2 separate regions of the Homo sapiens genome follow, and region 2 is linked to region 1. Evidence: promoter capture Hi-C in human tissues and cell types (Jung and others, 2019). All regions are on one chromosome and are shown on one strand. The core of a region is centred on a gene start or on the middle of the fragment in contact, and the rest is flanking DNA. Distances in the headings are between cores, read along the strand shown.

Region 1 (4,851 bases), core at 1,636-4,135:
AATCTCTTCCCCTCTACCTGTAAGACAGAGAAATCAGTGGGTTACTCCTCCCTCTGAAATTGTCATTAATCCATTCTCCTCCCCATCCCATCTCTCTTACCTCCTGCTTACTGGATAATCTGTTCTCAAAAAAAAAAAAAAAAAAGTTTCCTCTAGGAGAATCTACAAGCTGAGTCCTATACCTTAGCTTCACAGCTTGTTCCCTTTCCCTTTCTTAGAATACCCAAATGAATGTCCAAATTCTCCTCTCTAAGCAAAGCTCAGAGATGGAGCAGTATATGCAAATGATAGGAACAAATCTCCCATCAACAAGAGGCTAAATATCCTAGAAGGCTAAAAACAGGCCTGCTCTGAAAGGAGTTCCTAGCCCATGACCGAGCAGCTGGCAGCCAGCAACAGCTCTGATCTTTCTGTGAGGAAGGGACGGAAAGCCCCGGAAGTCTTCAGAAGTCCCATGCTCCAACAAAATATCAGATAAGGAACTCATGAGTCTGTTAATCTTCTCATCAATCAAACCCAATATCACAGCCAACAGCTTTAACGAACTTGCAGTCAGGTGGACACTATGGTGGGGGAGTTCAAAAGGAAAGAGCAATCCTCATGATAGGTAATCATTCTACCAGTTTCCAAACCCAGAAATTAGGGACTCCCTTACCCGTTGCTTGTGAAACATTACCTGCCCCTGACCTTCACCTCAACTTTGCCAGTCAGGAGATAAAAATGTAACCCCTGAGCAGGCCACACACTGGGTGCTGAGAAAAGCCATACAGCTGAGTCCACTCTACTTCTCCTTCCTAACTTAGCCTAAGTAGTTCTACAACCCTATTCCTAAACAGCTCAGAAGAGTCCCTGAGCTAGTCTGGAGAGACATGAGGTATTGAGTCCAGTTACACAAACAGAACAACTTGAGTAAGGACTGGATGACAGAGAGCAACAGGAGCTTAAGTCACATCCAACCAATGACAGAAGGAAAAAGGACAGTGTGATCAGAAAACAGTTTTAAGGAGGTCTAATTTTGGGGATCTCTTTTATTATTTTTAGATGGAGTCTTGCTCTGTCACCCAGGATACAGTGTGCTAGTGTGATCATAGCCTACTGCAGCTTCAAACTCCTGGGCTCAAGTGATCCTCCCACCTCAGCCTCCCATGTAGCTGGGACTACAGCTTTGCACCACCACACCCTACTAATTTTTAATTTTTTTTAGAGATGGGGGTCTTGTTACGTTGCCCAGGCTGGTCTTGAACTCCTGGGGTCAGACAGACAATCCTCCGGCCTCAGCCTCCTGAGTCTGTTCTTTTTCTTAAATCGACTGCTTCTGTAAGCTTTATTGTCACTATCCCCACTCAGCCTCCTTGTAAGGCTGGCAATCCCTCTCTACCACCCACCCCCAAACACACATCTCAGGGGTGATAAGGCAGAGCTGAGGTCCTTCAGAATTGACAGAGATGATTTAAAAACAGTTCAGGACAGGCGTGGTGCCTCACGCCTGTAATTCCAGCACTGTGAAAGGCCGAAGCGGGTGATCACTTGAGGTCAGGAGTTCGAGACCAGCCTGGCCAACATGGTGAAGCCCCGTCTCTACTAAAAATACAAAAATTAGATGGGCATGGTGGTGGGCGCCTGTAGTCCCAGCTACTCAGGAGGCTGAGGCAGGAGAATCACTTGAACGTGGGAGGCGGAAATTGCAGTGAGCTGAGATTGTGCCACTGTACTCCAGCCTGGGTGACAGAGCTAGACTCCAGCTCAAAAAAAAATAAAAATAAAAATAAAAATAAAACAGTTCAGCTTTGGCCTAGGTAAAACGACACGAGAAGACAGCTGGGGGAGAGGATCAAAATGGTGACGGGAAGGGGTGAATGCTAAGAATGTGATGCAACTTTAGAGAAAACATTGTAGTGAGGAGGTCACTGACGGGAAGTTGATACTCAGGGTGTATCATCCCGTATTTGAGAAATTACAACTTGCCAGCCATTCTTCTAAGAGCTTCACATATATTTAATCTTCACACCAGCCCTAAGAGGTAGGGAAAAGGTACATGCTCCATTATCCCCATTTCACATATGAGTAACTCAGAGAAGCTTAGAACCTTGCCCAGGATCACACAGCTCAGTTGGTGGGAGGGCTGGGATTCGACGTCAGGCCTGTCAAGCTCCAGAGCCGCGTTCTTAGCCGCTGCATTTTAGCTTCATACCTGGAAGAAGCAGCAAGGTTTAGGGAAGGGGCGCCGGGAGCGCCGCAGGCCGGGCCAGTGAACACTGAGGGCCAGCAGGGCTGGGCGGGGTGGGTGTGTGCGGGAGATCTCTGAGGACGGCGAAGCCAGACGGGGGCCGGGGCCGGGCCCGGGCTTGGGGAGGCCGGGACGGCCGGAGCAGCGGCGCGGAGGCTGCGGGCGCCGAGGGGGCCCGGGGCTGGCGGGTGGAGGGGCCCCGCCGAGAGGAGACGGGGGCACAGGTGGATGCGAAGAGCGCACCGGATGTGGGACACCAAAGGGGAAGGGGCCACAGGCGCGCGGCGGCGACTCCGGGGTGACATCGAGACAGCCTCTGGGCTGGGAGAGCCCTGCGGGAAGAAGGGAGCCCGCCCGGTCCGGAGGGGAGCGAGGCGGTTCTGAGGGAGGCCGGCGGAAAGGACCCGGGGCGCGGCGCACGCTGGGCCGCCCGGGACGACCCTGCGGGTGGTGATGGTGGCAACATCCAAGGGAGTCTGTTGGGGGGGCCTGAGCGCGACCGTGGGCGGGGGGGTCTCCTCAGGGGCGGCTCACCCGGAGGACTGGGCGGCGTCCCCGCTGTCCCCGGGCTCCGCCGCGTCCCGGGGCTGCCCGGCTTCCCTGCTTTCGGGGCCACGGGCCGCGTCGCGGCTGCTCCGCCATCTCCGAGCGAACGCTCTGCCGCAGCCTGGCCCAACCACCGCTCCCACCGGGGGAGGCGGCGCGCCGCCGCTGGTGGCACCCGCTCGGATCCACCGGCTCCGGCCCTAGCAGCCGCGCGACCTGGGTTCCGGGAAATCAAGCGGCCCTCCGCAGTGCCGGGCCGAGCCGCGGCCTCCGAGACGGCGGGCTCCGCGCCCCGCCCGCGGAAGCGCACCCCCTCCTCTCCGCGCGATGGCACTGCCGGCCGAGCGTCGGGGACCACGACTTCGGAGCAGGGGCGGGCTCAGGCCTGGGCTCATCCACTCAGCCCCGCGGAGGGGGAGCCGGGCCGGCCCACTCGGGGGAGGGGAGGAGTAAGAGGCGGAGCGGCCTAACCGGAGGCGGGACCAGGGGCGGGGCGAGGCCCTCAGCCGGCTCCCAGGGCACTCACCCTCCCTCCCCGCCCCGCGTCGCCTGCGCAGCACCGAGCGCTGTTTGGAGGCTGTTTATGAGAAGTTTTTTTTTTTTTTTTTTTTTTTTTTTTTTTTTTTTGAGACGGAGTCTCACTCTGTCGCCTGGGCTGGAGTGCAGTGGCGCGACCTCGGCTCACTGCAACCTCCCCCTCCCAGGTTCAAGCGATTCTCCTGCCTCAGCCTTCCGAGCAGCTGGGATTACAGGCGCCCGCCACTATGCCCAGCTAAATTTTTTGTATTTTTTAGTAGAGACGGGGTTTCACCATATTAGCCAGGCTGGTCTCGAACTCCTGACCTCGTGATTCGCCCGCGTCGGCCTCCCAAAGTACTGGGATTACAGGCATGAGGAAGTTTTATTCTCAAAAGTACCCAAAGGGAGTAGGAGGAGGTACTCTCTCCAACCTGGTAAGCCAGGCTGCTAAAATCTACGCCTCTGGCCGTAAACCTCCAACAGCAGTAACACAATGGACTGTTTAAAGGTTATTTTATTAAATATTTTCAGTTCAAGGTTTCATTGTAACAAAGCTATGAAGGGTCTACCAACATTCAGAACAAACACTATTTTTAAATTATTTCTATGTTGTCATGCAAAAATTCTGCATCAAATGCCTTCCGTTTCTTGTTTAAAAGGTGATTTTTTAATAGTCTATTGTCTATAGATGCTGACATTAGCCCCAGAAGAGGAGTAAGAATGCTAAGAAGTGGGGCTGGAGCAGCCATATGAAGCTATGGGTCTCAATGAATTCTAAGACCATTTGTCTTCAAGCCAGCAAAACGAAACCCTGTGGTGAAGGGATTTGCGTGCTGGCACTGCAGACTGCAGGGCAGGAAAGGGCTAGGGCCCAGGGGCTGGGACATGCATGAGGTGCTCGGAGGAGCCTGGCTAAATCCAAGCACCAGCACCTGTGAGTCTGCTCTCTTCTCAGCTGGCTCCCAAGTAAACCTGTAGCTTTGCCTCTTCTCCCAGCTCTCGTGCCTCCTGAAGGTAGTCCAGGGAACTGGAATCTACCCACCTTTCCCCCAAAAGTGGAGATGTTTGTGCAGATAAATCTGCAGCGTTGTTTTGAGGGAAACCAAGGCCATGACCAATTGCTCCTCCATTATCTTCTTTGCTATCTGCTTAGGGTATAGATCTCTTCCTCCTGGAATGGAACTCCTTGAGCACAGAGAGGGACAATGAAGGTAGAAGCCTTGGCTCTGGACACCTCTTTTGGGTTACATGCGGGGAGGGGTGATGCCCATGCAGATTGTCCAGCAGTAAGTCTATACTTCAGTTGGTCAGTAAAGAGGCCTCTGTAAGGACACCTCTTCTTCTTGCCAGAGCAGTCAGGTCAATCTCAAAGACAGGAAAAGAGATGGACGTGCAGCAAGGAAGAATAAGAAGGGAGGCAGCCCCAAAGGCAGCCTGAATGCATAGAAACGACCACCACCTCTTCTCCCACTGCCTCACTCCTCCCATCCCACAGGGGCACTTGGCAGAGGGCCCAGGCCCAGATGAGGGTCAGCATGGGGACCACTACCGTGAAAAGG
Region 2 (5,209 bases), core at 1,335-3,834, 1.4 Mb after region 1:
TGAAATTTAGAAACACTTAATGCATATTTCTACACCTTCTCTTGTCAAAACATCCTATTCATTCTGCTCCGTTGTGTTTCAGTTTTTATTTTTTGGAAGGATATATGAGACATTTAAGATGGGAAAGGATGGAGAGATAACTGCCTTTTGACTGGCATCACTAGTTTCCTATCCTTGGTTGAGACATTTTCCTACCAGTCTCTTCTGTTTATTTACTACATGATTTTTTACTTTCTCAAGAGTAATATATCTCTAAGCCCGTGTTCATAGCGATCACAGAAGAACCAAACCCATGTGTATTATCTTTCTTTCTCTCTAATAATAAATTCTTCTTCCTTTCTTTCCCTCAAATGAGGCAGAAAGGGAAAGCTGGGCAGTGTATAATCAGCAGGTGAGATTCCTAATGAGATTGTGATATCTATGAGGTTGTTTATTTTGGTCATATTTGATAGAATCTTTAAGACATAGGGCTTTGGAATTGGGTTCCCTGGGTTCACATCCTGACTGTGTTACTTACTAGCTATGTGACCTCTCTAAGCCAGTTTCCTCATCTGCACAATTAAATCACTTCATAGGATTGCTGTGGAAATTAAATGCAGTAACATATAAAGCACTTAGCAGCATGCCTTGCACATAGTAAATGTACATAAAATTTTAGCACCTTTTTGTACCATTATTATGTTATTATTAAATTGTATTATTATAATAATACTAGTATGCCTTTTTGTGTGTGGTTTTTGTTGTTGTTGTTGTTTTTTTGAGACGGAGTCTCGCTCTGTCGCCCAGGCTAGAGTGTAGTCAGGCTAGAGTGCAGTGGCGCGATCTCTGTTCACTGCAAGCTCCACCTACCGGGTTCACGCCATTCTTCTGCCTCAGCCTCCCGAGTAGCTGGGACTGCAGGTGCCCGCCACCAAGCCCGGCTAATTTTTTGTATATTTAGTAGAGATGGGGTTTCACCGTGTTAGCCAGGATGGTCTCAATCTCCTGACCTTGTGATCCACCCACCTCGGCCTCCCAAAGTGCTGGGATTACAGGCGTGAGCCACCGTGCCTGGCCTCTTTTTTTTTTTTTTTTTTTTTGAGATGGAGTTTTGCTCTTGTTGCCCAGGCTGGAGTGCAATGGCACGATTTCTACTCACCACAACCTACCCCTCCCGGGATCAAGAGATTTTCCTGCCTCAGTCTCCTGAGTAGCTGGGATTACAGGCATGTGCCACCATGCCCAGCTAATTTTTGTACTTTTAGTAGAGATGGGTTTTCCATGTTGGTCAGGCTGATCTCGAACTCCTGACCTCAGATGATCCACCCACCTCGGCCTCTCAAAGTGCTGGGATTATAGGCGTGAGCCACCGCACCCTGCAGTATGCTTTTTTTTTTTAAGTGACTGTCCCTCTTTTGTAAAGCAGTTGTCACTCAAGGTCTTCCTCAAAATGGACTGCTTTTTTAGGCGTATGTGTGGGAGTTGGGATTAGGTTTGGCTATTGATAACTGGAAATTCAAAGTGGCTATGGTTTAATAAACACACAATGGTTTATTCTCTCTCAAAAAAGAGTCTGAAGGTAGGTACACAAGGTCTGGTATGATAATTTTACGAAGTCATCCAAAAAAACCCCATAATTCTTCTGTCTTTCTGGTCTGCTATCCCAATACTTGGCTTGTATCCTCAAGGCCACTTTGTGGTCCAAGATGGTTGCTGGAGTTTCACCTCCAGTTGAATGAGTCTGAGTTGTAGACTAAAAAAAGGAAAGGTAAAAAGTTAGAAAAGACTTCCTCAAAACTGTTGTCTCTTACCTTGATAAGTAGCCTTCCCAGAAACCCTTAACACTTCTACTTAGATCTTATTGTACAGAACTTAGTCACGTGGCCACACCTAGCTACAAGGGAGGCTGGGAAAGGCAATATTTTGGCTGAATTCATTGCTGCCTCAATATATTTGAGATTGTGTTACCAGTGAAGAAGGGGAGAGTGGATGTTGAAAGGTAGACATTGATCTCCGTCTGTCATAGCCTATGTCTTATTGGCAAGAATAGCCAAGCAACTACTACTGTGATATTGGATTAAAAACTTGGAGATGTTTTTGTATTATAGAGAACTTTTTATTATAAAGGAACTCCTAGTAAAGGAGTTCATGTTACAGTGATTTCATTTATTTATTTATTTATTTATTTATTTTTAATTAATTAATCAATTTTTTTGAGACAGAGTCTTACTGTGTCGCCCAGGCTGGAGTACAGTGGCGCGATCTCGGCTCCCTGCAACCTCCGCCTCCCAGGTTCAAGTGATTCTCCTGCCTTAGCCTCCCTAGTAGCTGGGATTATAGGTGTGCACCACCATGCCTGGCTAATTTTTGTATTTTTAGTAGAGTTGGGGTTTCGCCATGTTGGCCAGGCTGATGTTGAACTCCTGACATCAGGTGATCCACCCACCTCAGCCTCCCAAAGTGCTGGGATTACAGGCATGAGCCACTGTGCCCAGTCTGATTTCATTTAATTACCAAAATATTTCTGAGTACAGCCAAGCTTTGCCCACCCATTCTTGAAGTCTGGCTGGAATTCATTAGACTGAAGGCCTAGATGCTTTGGCTTAGATCTTATTTCTAAGTTATTCAGCATTTGAATTTCAATAGGAATGGATGTTGGGAAGTTCCCACCTCCCTAAGCATTTGAAGCACTAATTCATAACTTTTCTTCATAGATATATGGCAGTGTATGGGAGAAATTACATCGAGCCTTTGCCATTTGGAGTGGCTTTGGTATGACCCTGACTGGCGTTCACACATGTGGAGATTACATGTTTAGTGGCCACACAGTCGTCCTAACTATGCTGAATTTCTTTGTCACCGAATGTAAGTATCTTTTTAGTGCTTCTATGCGTATTAGGTAACTAGCTGCAGTGAAGGCTGTGGGAAGGGTGTCAGATCCTGTGAAGAATGGCAAAACAGCCTGACCTGAGAAACGTGACTGAGAAGCATTGGAAGGAATGTAGCTTTAAAATGATCTTTCTGTCCTTTTCCTAGATACACCAAGAAGCTGGAATTTCTTGCACACTTTATCCTGGGTTCTCAACCTCTTTGGAATCTTCTTCATCTTGGCTGCCCATGAACATTATTCTATTGATGTGTTTATTGCTTTTTATATAACAACAAGACTCTTTTTGTACTACCATACTCTGGCCAATACCAGAGCATATCAGCAGAGTAGGAGAGCAAGGATTTGGTTTCCCATGTTCTCTTTTTTTGAATGCAATGTTAATGGCACAGTACCTAATGAATATTGTTGGCCATTTTCAAAACCAGCAATAATGAAAAGACTAATTGGATGAATACTATCTTTCTAATGAATTTGTGATTAAATATATAATAGTTGTTGAAAATGAGTAACTTTGCGTTCTCCCCCTAGGTTGTTCTTAGATGCCTGGCTTATGTGTTGACAAAGTAAAGTTTTCTGTTCTGAGCAAAGTTATGATTATAAAAAGCAAGAAAGAACAATCAAGAGTCCTTATGTAGCTATTTGAACAGAAAGCTTAAGTAGATGTTTTCTGCCCCTTCTCTTTAGGAAGACTTAATGTTGTGATTGAAGTCAGGCTGTACCCTTACCTGTTGAGTATTTGCTTATTGAACTTTAAACAAGTCAACTTGAGCAGTTTGCTGGTTGAGGAATTTTCATTGATTTCCAGTAGGGCTCTAGTCAAGAAATAATATGTTTTGAAGCTCCTTATTACCTTTAGAAGAAGAAACCCTAACAAGTGACAGTACTTGTTCTTTGGACTAATCTTTGTTTCATTTTAAAAAATGCAACCCTGGGACATGATCTGTTTTACTGACAAAGAGTTTTTGCCTTCTGAACCATCTTTAAATATACTGAGCATACCAGGATGCCTGAAATAAGAAGAGAATGAAAGAGGCCATAGATGACGTGACAGAGTACTGGCTAGGATGCCATTGGTCTCCTCATTAATGCAAATGTAGGGCTGGCATATTTCACCAAAGATGCAACAAAAGATGCAGTGCCAGTGTGACCCTCAGTGAGTATTCATGAGGGAAAAATGGCTGCATCCATAAAAATAAATGGGCTTAATGTTAGTGGTATAGGTACCCAGAATAACTTCTTTGTGCTATAGTTGTTAGATGACAGTTCAATTTTATGCTTTTTTAATGGTGTTATTAAATGAGCCAAATAGGAGTGTTTTACCAGATGTTAGATAAAGTTCTTAATGCCGTTAAGTAGGGAGGTATGCATGCAAAGAATTGTTTTCTCCTGAAAAGAAACTTACAGCACGCAAAATATAACTTTTTGGTTTTTGAAATTTATCATTCTTGGCTGTTGGAAGTAAACAGTCTCAGACATACTTGGATATGAAAAAGTTTCGTTGTTTTTTACTTTTAAATATAATGGTGTATATACATTCTTTCTATTTAGTCTTAATTTGGCAGTCAGGAAGTGATATAACTTAGCTGCTATTTACAACACTAGAAATTTAGTACTTTAAGTAATTTCACATCTATGATAACATTTGTTACTTTATTTTTAATGATTTTTTTACAGTAGTTATGACAGTAGGATGGTTATGGAATTGGAATTTAAACTCCCAACTAATGAGCTTAAGCTGCTTGGAATATTAATTATGTAGTTTTTACATTCCATTTTAAAACAAAAACTTAGAAAAGGTGCTGGCATTCTGAGGCCTGCAATTAGGCCACATAGCAGAAGCTTGCTCCTTCCTTATCTGGGTGAAATATTTTATTTTTGCACTTTGAGTCATATTCCCACCCCTGTATAAGCTACATAGGAGCCTGAATGAATTGGGTAGGAAAGGAAATTATGCAAACAAGTCTCAGCTAGTGCTGAATGACCCCAATTTGGGTCTGCTGTGAACATCATTTTTGTATTTCTCACTTGAGAAATGCTGCAAGGCAATTCAACTTTTATGCTTTTAAATCTCACAACTCAGAATCTGATATCTTAAATCACTGATTCTGTTACATGCTAGGAACAAAATGCCAACATCTCATGTAAAGAAGTTGCATAATCATGAAAAATAAAGGATGTTTCCTATGCCAGTTAGAGTGGTTTGACCCTTCAGGTAAAAAGATATGTTACTGTTATTTTTCTACGTGACAGAACAGACTGAATTTAGCTAGGGAGGCAGTGATGTTGGCTTTTGGGAAAGGGTTCAAAAAACTGTATGGCAACATTAATGCTAAAATGTTA

What was found. Contacts are between HindIII fragments. The study calls those that stand out against the background at their distance.
Region 2: a contact is called between a fragment that was not itself captured here and the fragment with the promoter of NDST2 in region 1, in 1 of the 25 tissues and cell types used here (dorsolateral prefrontal cortex).

What each region holds. Positions count from the first base shown.
Region 1 is chr10:73,808,713-73,813,563 of GRCh38, forward strand. It overlaps NDST2 (N-deacetylase and N-sulfotransferase 2), which reads right to left and starts at 2,886. Exons shown (of 15, transcript NM_003635.4): 1 at 2,762-2,886; 2 at 2,087-2,191; 3 at 1-17. It overlaps CAMK2G (calcium/calmodulin dependent protein kinase II gamma), which reads right to left. Exons shown (of 23, transcript NM_001367534.1): 23 at 3,789-4,851. It overlaps NDST2-ZSWIM8-AS1 (NDST2-ZSWIM8-AS1 readthrough), which reads right to left and starts at 3,108. Exons shown (of 18, transcript NR_182658.1): 1 at 2,762-3,108; 2 at 2,087-2,191; 3 at 1-17. RefSeq lists silencers at 2,321-2,390, 2,691-3,400. The HindIII fragment of the contact is 10,328 bases long and covers 1,701-4,851 here.
Region 2 is chr10:75,173,373-75,178,581 of GRCh38, forward strand. It overlaps SAMD8 (sterile alpha motif domain containing 8), which reads left to right. Exons shown (of 6, transcript NM_001174156.2): 5 at 2,694-2,844; 6 at 3,016-5,209. The coding sequence ends at 3,320. Among named protein-coding and RNA genes, the nearest start is that of VDAC2, 35 kb to the right of the region's middle. The HindIII fragment of the contact is 3,060 bases long and covers 1,055-4,114 here.